4 separate regions of the Homo sapiens genome follow, and regions 1, 3 and 4 are each linked to region 2. Evidence: promoter capture Hi-C in 16 types of primary human blood cells and fetal thymus (Javierre and others, 2016). All regions are on one chromosome and are shown on one strand. Each heading gives the region's core, a stretch centred on a gene start or on the middle of the fragment in contact. The rest is flanking DNA. Distances are from core to core; before and after follow the strand shown.

Evidence for each region. Contacts are between HindIII fragments. The CHiCAGO score rates a contact against its expected background, and 5 or more counts as called.
Region 1: a fragment that was not itself captured here is called in contact with the fragment with the promoter of KY in region 2 in 1 of 17 cell types (neutrophils); the score reaches 6.0 in neutrophils.
Region 3: a fragment that was not itself captured here is called in contact with the fragment with the promoter of KY in region 2 in 1 of 17 cell types (neutrophils); the score reaches 5.3 in neutrophils.
Region 4: a contact is called between a fragment that was not itself captured here and the fragment with the promoter of KY in region 2, in 1 of 17 cell types (neutrophils). The highest score is 7.3, in neutrophils.

What each region holds. Positions count from the first base shown.
Region 1 is chr3:134,305,021-134,307,938 of GRCh38, forward strand. No RefSeq gene overlaps it. Among named protein-coding and RNA genes, the nearest start is that of LINC02004, 7.1 kb to the right of the region's middle. The HindIII fragment of the contact is 5,144 bases long and covers 1-2,918 here.
Region 2 is chr3:134,649,502-134,652,880 of GRCh38, forward strand. KY (kyphoscoliosis peptidase) reads right to left here and starts at 1,521. Exons shown (of 11, transcript NM_178554.6): 1 at 1,324-1,521. The coding sequence starts at 1,459. It also overlaps a transcript of CEP63 not described here. The HindIII fragment of the contact is 8,919 bases long and covers 1-3,379 here.
Region 3 is chr3:134,253,429-134,256,307 of GRCh38, forward strand. No RefSeq gene overlaps it. Among named protein-coding and RNA genes, the nearest start is that of RYK, 4.0 kb to the left of the region's middle. The HindIII fragment of the contact is 4,822 bases long and covers 1-2,879 here.
Region 4 is chr3:134,287,535-134,290,724 of GRCh38, forward strand. No RefSeq gene overlaps it. Among named protein-coding and RNA genes, the nearest start is that of LINC02004, 24 kb to the right of the region's middle. The HindIII fragment of the contact is 2,317 bases long and covers 525-2,841 here.

The sequences.
Region 1 (2,918 bases), core at 54-2,553, 340 kb before region 2:
TTTACTTATTAATATTGGGTAATTTCAAGGTTTCAAAGTTTTACCCATCTGGGTAGGTGAAAACATCGGTGTTTTAATATGCATTTTTTTTTTTAGCTGTGTGTGTGGCTTATATTATTCCCTGTGTTTATTGGTCATCAGTGTTGGTATTTGTTTGTTTTTCTTGATTTCCCTATTCATATTCTCACCTTCAATGGATCCTTTTCTCTGATCATCTGTGTCTTTCTTTGCCTTAGGAAAATGTCTTTTGGTTACTTCCTCAGTTGTTTCCTCCCCTCCTGGATCCAGACATCTGGGTCTAGATTTATTTTCATGTTATTTTATTTTATCCTATGTTTTCCATCTCTCAGTCTTTACACTCTGCCTTAAAGGAGATATTTTTCAACATTATCTCCCAGACATTCGGCTCTCTTTTCAAAAATTCTAGATTATTATTTTTGAAAATCAAAGTAGTACATGAGGATTGTTTTATGAGCAAAATATAGCTTATATAGTTTATAGTAAAAATCACACTGTCCCACAATTTCTTATTCCTGTTCCTCTCCCTAAACTTTTTTTTTTCTTTTTTTTTTTTTGAGTTGGAGTCTTGCTCTGTTGCCCAGGCCGGAAAGCAGTGGTGCTATCTTGGCTCACTACACCTCCGCCTCCTTAGTTCAAGCGATTCTCCTGCCTTAGCCTCCCAAGTAGCTGGGACCACATGCGTGTGCCACCACACCTGGCTAATTTTTGTATTTTTAGTAGAGACGGGGTTTTACCATGTTGGCCAGGCTAGTCTCAAACTCCTGACCCCAGGTGATCCACCTGTCTCAGTCTCCCAAAGTGCTGGGATTACAGGCGTGAGCCACTGTGCCCAGCCTCCCTAAACTTTTAAACTGTTATTTTCCTGGTACTTACTGCCGTACTTCTCAACTCTAGATGTTATCTTTTGATTTCCTATCATTGGAAGACAAAGATTCAGTGATAACACCACCACCATGTCCCTACTATCATTTTCTGCATCCTGCTATGATAGTTATGTCCCAACTTTTTGTTAAATTGTTACTATTTTTTGGATAAACATGTGAGCTCAATTCATGGTTGAGTCCAAAAGTCCATTATGATTATGTCTCCCTTTATTTTTTCCTGGAGTTAATAGTTGTTTGTTTATTTATTGATTTGTCGCTTAGTTTTTATGTACCTTCTAAACCCTCCTAATGGAAGTGAAAAACACTTTTGAATTTGGAAGAGCCCTTGTCCGTGAACTGGCTCCTTCCTTTGTTTCTCTCCTTCTTGAGGTACAAGGACAGAGCCAAGAAAGACTGATTAGAGTGTTAGGCAGACAAGAGAGTCAGGAAAAGGGTGGAATGTTTCCAGGTGCCTGACAAGGAAAAGGGAAAACAGATCCACAGGGATCTAGGGAGCTGGAGCTTTTGAAATCAGTTGTTTGACCTCAGAATGTCTCTACAGAAACAGCGTTTTCCATGGTGGGTGGTTCCCAGCTCGTCTCCTACTCCAACTCACTCCCAAGCTGAACAGCTGTACAGGACCTTTCCAGAAAAGTTGTAAGACTGGGCCGGGTGCGGAGGATCATGCCTGTAATCCCAGCACTTTGGGAAGCCAAGGCGGGCAGATTGCCTGAGATCAGGAGTTCGAGACCAGCCTGGCCAATGTGGTGAAACCCCATCTTTACTAAAAATACAAAAATTAACTGGGCGTAGTGGCATGCACCTGTAGTGCCAGCTACTCGGAAGGCTGAGGCAGGAGACTCTCTTGAACCCGGGAGGTGAATGTTGCAATGAGCGGAGATCACGCCACTGCACTCCAGCCTGGGTGACAGAATAAGACTCAAAAAAAGACTGTAGCAGTGTTGTTTTCCAAGTTTGCAAGAAAGTAGAAACATTGAAGCAGCAACAATTTTGCATTTACCTTGAATGGCAGTGCTGGAGGCAGAGGGAGTATTAATGTTTTGTGCTTGGTGGAGATAGCAGTGGGCCAAAGACAAGCCCTGCATCCCCCTAGAGGTGAATATGGGTGAGATGGACAGAAGAGAAAAAGAATCCAAGGGGGAAAGGAGATTATGAGAAAGGAGAAGCCTCAACTGGGCAGAAGCCCTTCCCTGACCTTAGTACCCAGCCTTCTCCACCCCTGATTTTGCTAACCCTGCCCAGCACATAGTAGGTGTTTAATAAGTAATATAAGTAATAGGCTCTGTGAGGTCAGGGCACTTCTCAAGGGTGTGAGGATGAATATCCACAAGTCAGAAGTCTGTAATTTAGGGGTGGTTGGGAAGCACAGCAACAAATGTTTCACGTATTTTGATCTTTCAATTCACCTGTGCAGATGCGTAAATTCTTCTGGATTGCGGAAGAACTGATTGTTCCCTAAGGGCCCTGTTTGGGGTTGGCAGATCTTGCGTACCTCTTCTGGGCCACCAGACCCTCTCTTTCTTCATCACCAAACCCAGGAAGGGCTCATATCCCGTTCTGCAGGTGTGGGTAGGAGAAAGCTGGGGGAACACCCAGGGGTTACTAGCTTTTAACAAAACCACATTTTAGTTGGCTGGAATCCTAGTCATGAGCAGGGATGATTACAGAGGGCTCACCTCACACCTTGTCCTGGCTTCAAATGGACTGAGTGGGCCCAAGCATGTTCCAGAGAGCTTAGTGGTGATGCAACTCCCGCAGGCCACCAGAGCACAGAAATCCTTACTCTGCCTGGGCCTGGCTTTGTGTGTTTTCAGTTGTTCTGTCCTGGTGGCTTTGGGGAATACAATTCTTAGTCCTCAGAACACCAGCCTACACTAACTCTGCTGTTTAACACTTGCCTCTGTTTGAATGTTTTGTGATAGTTGTTTGCTAAAGTTTGTTAACCTTGCCTTGCACATATTAGGTGATCAATAAGTAATTGTATGAATTAATAAACTCTGATCCTTTCTCAGG
Region 2 (3,379 bases), core at 271-2,770:
TTTCTATCAAGAAGTTGATGCCCTCTGTTGACTTTCTAACTACAAATACCCTGGGCAGGCCATTTCCCCTTCTCCCAAGAGTAGGTCTGATAACTAAAGAGCCAACGAATCCAAACAACTCCTGCTTCAGTCAGGAATCAGCCCTGAGACTAGAGCGCCTGTCAACATACTCAGCCCTCTAGATTCTGTTTCTTTCCCCTGCCTGCCTTCCCAAGAGGTTCCCAGGGCTCTGGAGGCAGCTCCAGCCTATGTGGCTGGTAGTGGCAAGGCCATCCACAGCAGCATTACTTAAGCAAGGCAGGTGGAAGGTGGATGTTCAATGAGCACAGAGGCTCTGGGGACAGAAGAACCAAGGGCAGAGCAGCAGCAGGAATTCCAAGGAGCTCCAGAGCTGGAGGGGAGGAGAGAGGCAGAAGTCATTCTCCTGCATGGGCTGTCAGGCCTAACTCCTAAAGAACTGGCCCGCAGTCCGCCTAGTGCATCCTCACACCAGCCTCGGAGACAGCTTGCCATCCAGGACCCTGAGGTTCTCTGGCTTTTCAGGGGCTTATTTAACCTCCATTATCATCCCTCTGTACTCCATTCACATTGTGTTCTGTCGTCTGGAGAACAGAGAGGCCCGGATCCTGCTTTCCACAATCACTCTATAAACAGTCACTTTATTTTACCAATCTACAACTTACAAATTTACCCAGAAAGTGTGTAGGACAAGTAAAATTGATGGATAAGTTCAAGTGGAGACAGCAGGTTTCAAATCTTACCCTATCCAAACCTGCGTTCCTTTTACGCCTTTCATGCCTTCCATCTATAGGAGGCTGGGAGAAAGTCTCAAGAAAGGAGAAACTGAGGCTGTAAATTGTGCAAGGCCACACAGGGAGCTCCCCATCTAAAAGTCTGACTCAGCCCAAAGGTTTCCCAGCGTCCCCTGTGCCCTGCAGTGTGCTGTGGGGGGGAGCAGGCCTCTGCTACCCATGAGTCAGCCCTGAGGCTCTGGCCGCCTTCCTCCAGGGTATCTTCCAATCTTGCTCTACACCCGTTAGGGAGTGGCTGGGAGGAAAAAGACTCCCAGGGGTGACGGAAGCACCCACAGGCCTGCACAGGGAGTGAAACTGGGGCAATCACGGGGCTGCGCGTTGCCACGGGACTGCGCGTTGCCACGGGACGCCGGTGCCACTGCGGGGAAGCGACGGCAGCCATGGGGGAGAGGGTCGGGTTCGCTGACCTCGTTCGGGGGAGCAATGGGCGCCCCCCGGCGGGCAGGCCCTTGTGGCAAGGAGGCCAAGGTGCCGGGGGACCCGGGGACCCGGGTCGGGCGCGCGTTACCTCCTCCGCGCTGCAGCAGCGAGCTCGGGTTCGCCTGCTGGTCTGAGAGCGTACCCTGTGCGGCGCGCCGCTTCTCCGAGTGCACGATCAGCAGCATGTCGATAGATACAGCGTTGATGTCCTTCTTCAGCTCCATGATGCCGCCTCCTTTCCGACCTGGGCGCCGCGGCCGCACGCTAGGCTGCTTGCGCTGCAAATGGCCCCGTGCGCGCAGCTGCCCCACACGGGAGAGGGCGAGGGCGCGGAAGAGGGCGCTCCCCCGCCGCTGGAGCCGCAGGGCGCTGCTTTTCGCTGACTCTGCCAAACACGCCATTAGGGCCCGCCTGGGAGGGCGCTACCCTAATGAAGCGGCTCTAAGTCACCTTTGAAAGGAAATCCCCGGGCCCAAGCCTTGACCTGCACCGGGGCCATAGTCAGCAGGGGCGGCCGGTCCAGAGCCTCCCTCCCTGCGCCCCTGCCTCCCGCCCGGTGCACTTGAAGCGCTGGTCCTGGGCTCCAGGGCTTCTCTGGCTGAGCGCTGCCTCATCCCCACGGTCTCCGGAGGGTTCTCGAGAGGGCTGGAGCCGACCTCCCACGAGAAGCCCCTGGCAAATACAGAAATCGCACAGTGCTGTCAACATTGAGAGTAGATTCAGGAAAAGGAAAGACAGCAAAGGGGCTCCAGATTGAATTGCAAGATGTGCAGAGATTGTCCAAGTTTTGGCCTCGACCTCACTCCTTCCCTGGGTTGGTTTTGGAGGTTGACAGCTCTCTCTCCCTAGGAGGGAGTTGGGTGGGGTGTTGGAGTCAGGAGCTCCCCCCAGTTACGGCCCCTGTAGAACTTGGAACATGCCCATTGAGTATCAAGCTAACGATCCTCTTTGATCTGAAACGAAAGTCTTAAAGTCTCGGTTCGTTCTAGAAGCCTGGCTCCTGCCCTGTGGGGAAGGAGGGAGGGGGAGAGGAGGAGGCTGGGGCACAGGGAGCTGGACCTGAGAAGCCTTCTATTTTTAGCCCGGCCTGGCCTGCCCAGCCAACAGCAGCAGGGGTTTGGCTGTAGGTCTCAGGAGTGTTTACATAGGCTTCTGCCTGGTACCCCTGGGCACTACGGGCCCACCCTGCTGGGGGCGTTCCCCTAATTCGAGTTTCTACTGTTAATAAATGCACCCCCACATGGAGGCCTTTGCTCTGGGAGCCCTCCCCGCATTGGAGTGTATGGACCCCACCTTGTAGCATGGTCCTGAGAGTTCCCAGATCCTCCTTGGAGCAGCCTGTGTCACACAGACTGCATTCCAGTACCAGCTCCATCACTTCCTGGCTGTGTGACCTTGGACCAGCCATTTTCCCTCCACCTTCTCACCCTTATCACTGGGTTGATAAAAATTTCTCACATGGCTGTTGTGAGAATGGCATGAATGTAAGGCGCCTGGTGTATAGAAAGTGGTCTTCATATGGTAGCTGTCATTCTTACTTCATTTTAAGGGTGAGGAAAGGGAAAGATGGAGTGACAAGTGACTGATGGAGCAGAGAAGCAGGAGAGATGTCACAGCCACACTCTGAGATTCTGAAGGTCTTCCTCCAATAACAGTGGCTCAGAGTTTGGTTCCGTGTAAAGGCTGTTGTCTTATTGCATTACCAGCGCCCCCCCCCACCACCCCACCCCCTGACTCACCCACTGGGCATCTGATGGAAGGAGAGGTTGTTGGCTTCCAGTAATGTTGAACTGGAGTCCCTAGAGAGCTGAGGCCATAGACAGGCAAGTGGAGATGGCTGACTTCCAAGGCAGGTTTCCTTCTGCTAAAGTGAGTCTTGTCCTGTCTGTATGTGTGCAGGTACACACACACACACACACACGCGCGCGCGCACACCTGGGAGGCTGGCTAACACTTACTCTCTATGTGGCTGGGGAAGTAAGAACTATGCATTATGCAAAGCTCTTGGGGTGTTGGAGATTGCTGAGGCAGATCTCAGGTCCCAGAGTCCCCCCAACTACCCTGGGCCAGTCAGTGTTGTCTAACTCCTTCAAGTGTCAGGTTGTCTGAAGTGCTGAAATCAACTAGAAGCCTGTGTACAGCAC
Region 3 (2,879 bases), core at 84-2,583, 400 kb before region 2:
CATTCTGTTAAACGTCAGCCTGATCATGTACTCTCTGGCTTTCAGACCACCAGTGGTTCCCCAACTCACCTAGAATAAAAGGCAAAGTCTTTCCAAGATGTCAAGGTAGTTCTCACTCTCCACCTTTCTCCCTTCCCTCTGACCTTATCTTCTGCTCACCGCCTACTCCCTTAGTTCCTGCCACACCACAAAGGCTTCCTTTCTGTTCTTCCAACAAACCAGACACAATCCTACCTCAGGGCCTTTGCACTGCTGTTCCCTGTCTCTGGAATGCTTCTGTCTGACACCCACATGGCTTCATCTCTTACCTCCTTCAAATCTATGCTCAGATGTTAACTTCTGAATAAGATTGCAAACTTCCCCACACTTTAATTAAACCCTTGGAGAAGGAATTGATTCCCAGTCTCTCTCTTGCTGTCTCTGCATGACACTTGGTCTCACACAAAGGTCTTCCCACAATCCCCAGCCCATCCTGAAGAGGAAGTTTCCTCTCCCTCCCCTAACAAGGTGTGGGTGGCAACTTCTGAAATTTCCCAAAAAGCCTCAGCATGAAAATGAGAAACCATGACCACAGCCTCCTGAGGTTTCTTTGCCTTGGGGAAATGAAAGCCACAGTCATCAACACAATCCACACATTGGCCCTCCACTCTTGGTTTTGTTTGTCACAGTGGTTGACCTTATTCTCCTCCTCCAGGAGACATATTTCAGCATGGCCAGGAAATACCATCAGCAGGACTTGTACTTTAAAAAGCCAGTCTTGGACTTGAGATGCCATGGGGTAGATGGGTAGATGGGAGCGTGGGGTCAAAGCTACACAGAGATGATGGGTGTTCCATGTTTGACCTCTGGTGTGGGCTGAGAATACCTGGTGCCCGCAAGGACAGACACCCAGAGACAACTCAGCAACATGGACCTGACCCAACCACTCAGCTGGGTGGGGGTGGGTGGTTGGAGAAGGGGTGGCTCCAAGTCCTGAAATCAGCCTCGTCTTTTGCCAGGAGCAGTTGGGAATGTGGCTCTCTCTATAAACCTTCTCCTTCCACAAGTAATATATTAAACCATTTGCACTGTAAAAGAGTCAAGCAGCACAGAAGTATGTGAAATAAAATATAAATATGTCCCTCCACACACACCCTCGTCTCTCTTACCCACTGCCCAGTTTGATGTATGTTCTGAGAGCCCTTTCTCTAGGCAGTTACTCACACATATATGGGTTTAAACACACAATTGTATGTGTGTGCTCTTTTTCAGCCTTATAGAAATGGACAACACAACAAAAAGTTGTGATCTACAGGATTTGCTTTTTTGACTGATCTAAGTAAGTTGAGATCTCGAGGATGTTCTCATGACAGGGCATACAGAGGCATCCCTGTGGTGTTCTTTTGGTTGGGATGAACTGATGGATTTTACCAGTTCTGGTAATACACATCAAATCCTTGCACATACATCTTTGTGCATATGTATAAATATTTAGAAGAACAGATTCTCTGAAATGGAATCTTCAAGTCCAAAGGAGTTATGTTTTAATTTTGATAGATTCTGCTGAATTGCCTTCCAAAAGATTTTACAAATATACATTTCCAAATGTGGCATAAATGAGAGACACAAGGTAATAGGCCAATGTTTTTCATTTTGCTGTTGACAGTCTAGTGAAAGAAAAATAGCTTATTGTTGTTTAATCTGCATTGCCCTCATCACTAGTGCGGTTAAGTATCTCATATACTTATTGCATATTCAAATTACTCTTTGAAATATCTGCCCACATATTCTATTTTTTAGTTAGCTTATTTGTCTTCTTATTGATTTATGGATGTTTTCTTTTACTGTATCCCTTGTCATTTAACTTTTCTTATGATGTTCTTTACTTAACTTAAATTTTGGATTTCTATTTTAGATAAATCTGACAATCTTTTCCTTTATGGCTTCCGCATTTTGTGTCTTTCAAAGGTCCCCCAATTAATACTTTTTGTATTTTGTACTTTTTTCTCTTAAAAAATAGCTCCTTAATCTATCTGGAATTTATGTTTATGTATGGCACATGATACAATTTTATTTTTTCCATATGGTTAACCATTTGTACCAAACACTAGTTATTACATTTACTGAATGTTCCTTAGTGGCCATATCTAACTTTAAACAAAACAGGAATTTCAGCCTGCTTTCACTTCCCTCTTTCTTCACATACCTTTCACATTGAGATCATGTAGTTCTACACTGGCCAGTATAGTAGGCACTAGCCACATGTGGCTATAAAGTACTTCAAATGTGGCTGGTAGGAATTGAGATGTGCTGTAAGTGCAAAGTACATGCCAGATATTGAAGACTTGGTATTAAAAAAAAAAAGAATGTAAAATATTTCATTGATAATTTTTATATTGGTTGAATGTTAGAGTGGTAATATTTTAGATATATTGTGTTAAAATATATTATTAAAATGTATTTCATATGTTTCTTTTACCTTTTTTGACTTTACTAGAAAATTATGTTTATGGCCTGACATTTCTATTGGGCAGTGCTGATCTAGATATTAGTTCCAGGTTGTTCAGCATTTCATTTTAAAAATTACATTTTTCATAGCACTTTAAACAATTGACAAATGGCATTAGCTACAGTAACTGAAACTAAAATAGGCAAGTGATCCTATGAGAAGTCACAGTATTATAGGGCATCTTCACTTGTCATAAGCATTTTTTTTAACCACAAACCTCAATGTTGAATTGTTTAGCTCAAATGTGCAGAATTTCATTCTCCCCAAGGTGAAAAAGAAATTCGGCAAAAATGATGTCTATCATCAAAGTAAATTTTATATTGGCATGTGAAATATGAAAAACATTCCTTATTCAGTGTCTTGGGCTGAAAGCCTGGAGAAGCCTCTTTAT
Region 4 (3,190 bases), core at 433-2,932, 360 kb before region 2:
GCCCACTCCTGGGATAATGACATTAATTCATTCATTCATGAGAACTTTGCTCTCATACCTTTATCACCTCTTAAAAATCCCACCTCTCAACACTGCTCCATTGGGGATCAAGTTTCCAACACATGGCCTTTGGGGGACAGGTTCCAATCATAGCACTGACCATGACTCAGTCACCAAGGACCTGCCTGCTACCATATCTAATGGTTACTTCTCTTTTTTCAGCTTACCTCACTTCTCAGCAGCATTTCATAGAGTTCTTCTAGAATTCTTCTGGCATTCCTCCTACCTCAATGATGGCTGCTCCTCAGCCTCATTTGCTGGTTTCTCCTTCTTACCTGACCTATAAGTATTGATTAGCCCCAGAGCTCAGCTCTGTGCCCTCTCCATTTTTCTGTCTATATTGTCTCCATAAGTGACCTCATCCAAATTTGTATCTCTTGCTCAACTCCTTCTACCCGAGCTCCAGATTTGCCTTCAGGAATGCCTTTGTGACAACTCTACTTGTGTCCTCAATAAGTAGCTCAAGCTTAATATGGTTCAAAGTCAAACGGTTTCCCTTGAATCCTGTTTCTCCTCACTATTCCTCACCTTGATAAATGTACTCTTTGCCATTACTATAACCACATTCAGTCTCTTCCCTTTTGCTCTCCTTCTCTTTCTAATCCATTAGCAAGTCCCATCTTTTCTATCCAGAAAACATATCCTTAATTCCTCCCACTCCCCCACTTCTCCAACTCCATCCTCTCTGTGGAGTGCTTGCCCCTGACTCCCCACTGCACACCACCTAACAACATGCACAGACATATACAGTCATGCACACACCTTCTCCCAGTCTCTCTCCTCACTCCATCTTGATTCTCCATCGCTTTGCCTTTATAGCTTTCATACCATTCTGTAATTGCATTATCTACCTCTTGACTGACTTCTTGACGTTCCCTCTCCCAAAGGCCAGGACTAGGGTGAGTTGAGAATGGCACTTGTCTCAGATGTAAAACTTAAGGGGGTTCCAAAAATACTCAGTAATCAAGATAAGCAAATTTTAATGCAATATACTAAAAAGTCAAAGTGCAAAAAACTTCCTGATGAGCAAACCAAATTCTAAGATCACTTAGTTTTATTTTATTCATACATTCTTCAGTATATATCTCTACAGATAAGAACAACAAAAAAGCAACCACAATTCCATTATTACATCTAATAAAATCAATATAATTCCTGAATATCATTTTACATTTAATTCATTTTCCTTTTCTCCCACCTCAGCCTCCCAAGTAACTGGTACTATAGGCTTGTGCCACCACGATTAAATTCTCTGAGATTTACTAGATTTTATTTATCCCTATATCTCATGACTACGTTTAGAATAAAATTTGTATTGGTGACTAAAAATATGTATTAGCATTCTCTATATATTAGCAGTAAGCCATCTCTCCACCTTCACTTAAACAGACAGACCAGGTGCAGTGGCTTACACCTGTAATCCCAGAACTTTGAGAGGCTGAGGCAGGTGGATCACGAGGTCAGGAGTTCGAGACCAGCCTGGCCAGCATGGTGAAACCCCGTCTCTACTAAAAACAAAAAAATTAGCTGGGCATTGTGGTGCATACCTGTAATTCCAGATACTTGGGAGGCTGAGGCAAGAGAATAGCTTGAAACTGGGAGGTGGAGGTTGCAGTGAGCTGAGACCACGCCACTGCACTCTGCACTCTAGCCTGGGTGACAGTGCAAGACTCTGCCTCAAAACAAAACAAAACAAAACAAAACAAAAACCAAAAACCAAAAACCAAACCAAACAAACAAAAAAACCCAAACAGACAAAAAAAAAAAAAAATCAAAGTAAGTGTTTGTTCTTTGTAATGAACTACCTGGCCTATACACCTCTTGGGTCCATCCCCTACTCAATCTTCATTTTAAAAGGGTTTCTGTGGACTGCAGCTACATAGCCTTCTTAATGCAGAAAACTGAATGTACCTGATGATGCAAATCACAGTATTAGTCTGTAACATAAACTGCCATTCGCTGTTATAGACAGCTCAAGAAAAAGAAAACCTCATGAATCCGGAAACAAAGGCCCCTGCCCTAACCACCCCCATACCCTCCAACAACTGTCAACCCTGTAGATGTTACACTCAAAAAAACAAACAAAAAAAGAAGGGCCAGCATGGTGGCTCACGCCTATAATCCCATCATTTTGGGAGGCCTAGGCTGGTGGATCACTTGAGGTCAGGAGTTCAAGACTGGCCTGGGCAACATGGCGAAACCCTGTCTCTACTAAAAATATAAAAATTAGCCAGGCGTGGTGATACATGCCTGTACTCCCAGCTACTTGGGAGGCTGAGGTACAAGAATTCCTTGAACCCAGGAGGCAGAGGTTGCAATGAGCTGAGATTGTGCCACTGCACTCCAGCCCGGATAACAACACGAGACCCTGTCTCAAAAATAAAATAAGGATTTTAGCAGTTGGACTTCATTCTGTGTCCTCTGAAGAGGACCTGATGGAAAAGAGGTTATTCAAATGGGCCATTTCCAACCCTGTCTATACTTTAGAAACACTAAGGGTTCAAGAGAACTAAACAAAAATTCTATTTCAGGCCCACCCCAGTCCTCACATGCCCCAAGATACTTTTGGACAAACTTCACTTTTATTTGTTTATTTATTTGGCTTAAGGAATTGCAGGAAGTCTTATACTTCCTACTTTTTGGAAAAATAAATGCCATAATTCTAAACTAAGTTTTATTTGGATTGCAGATTTAAGTGTCAAAAAAACAAACTACGGAAGACAAAGGGAAGAAAATAGAAGCAAATATTAATCAAATTTCAGGACAGGAAATATATTTGTAAGCTTTGAAGTGAAAACCAAAAAGAAAGAAAAACAAAAGAAAAAAGGAAGAAACCACAAAAGAAAAGACCGATGAATTTGAGTAAATACAAATTTAAAACTTCTTCACTACAACAAAAACGATGGAAATAAAATAACCAAAATGAAAAAGCAGAGACCAGAATGAGGATGATGAGGTGGAGACACAAGGCTGCTGTTACCACAGACAGAATAGTAACATCTTTGTTACATAAAGAATTTATAAAAATTGGTTTAAGAAATTAAGGCTTGAGTAAGTAAGTAAGCCAGCATCTGTGCTCACAAATTACACAAGTGGAAACATTGTTATAAACAAACGTGGCAAAAGATTA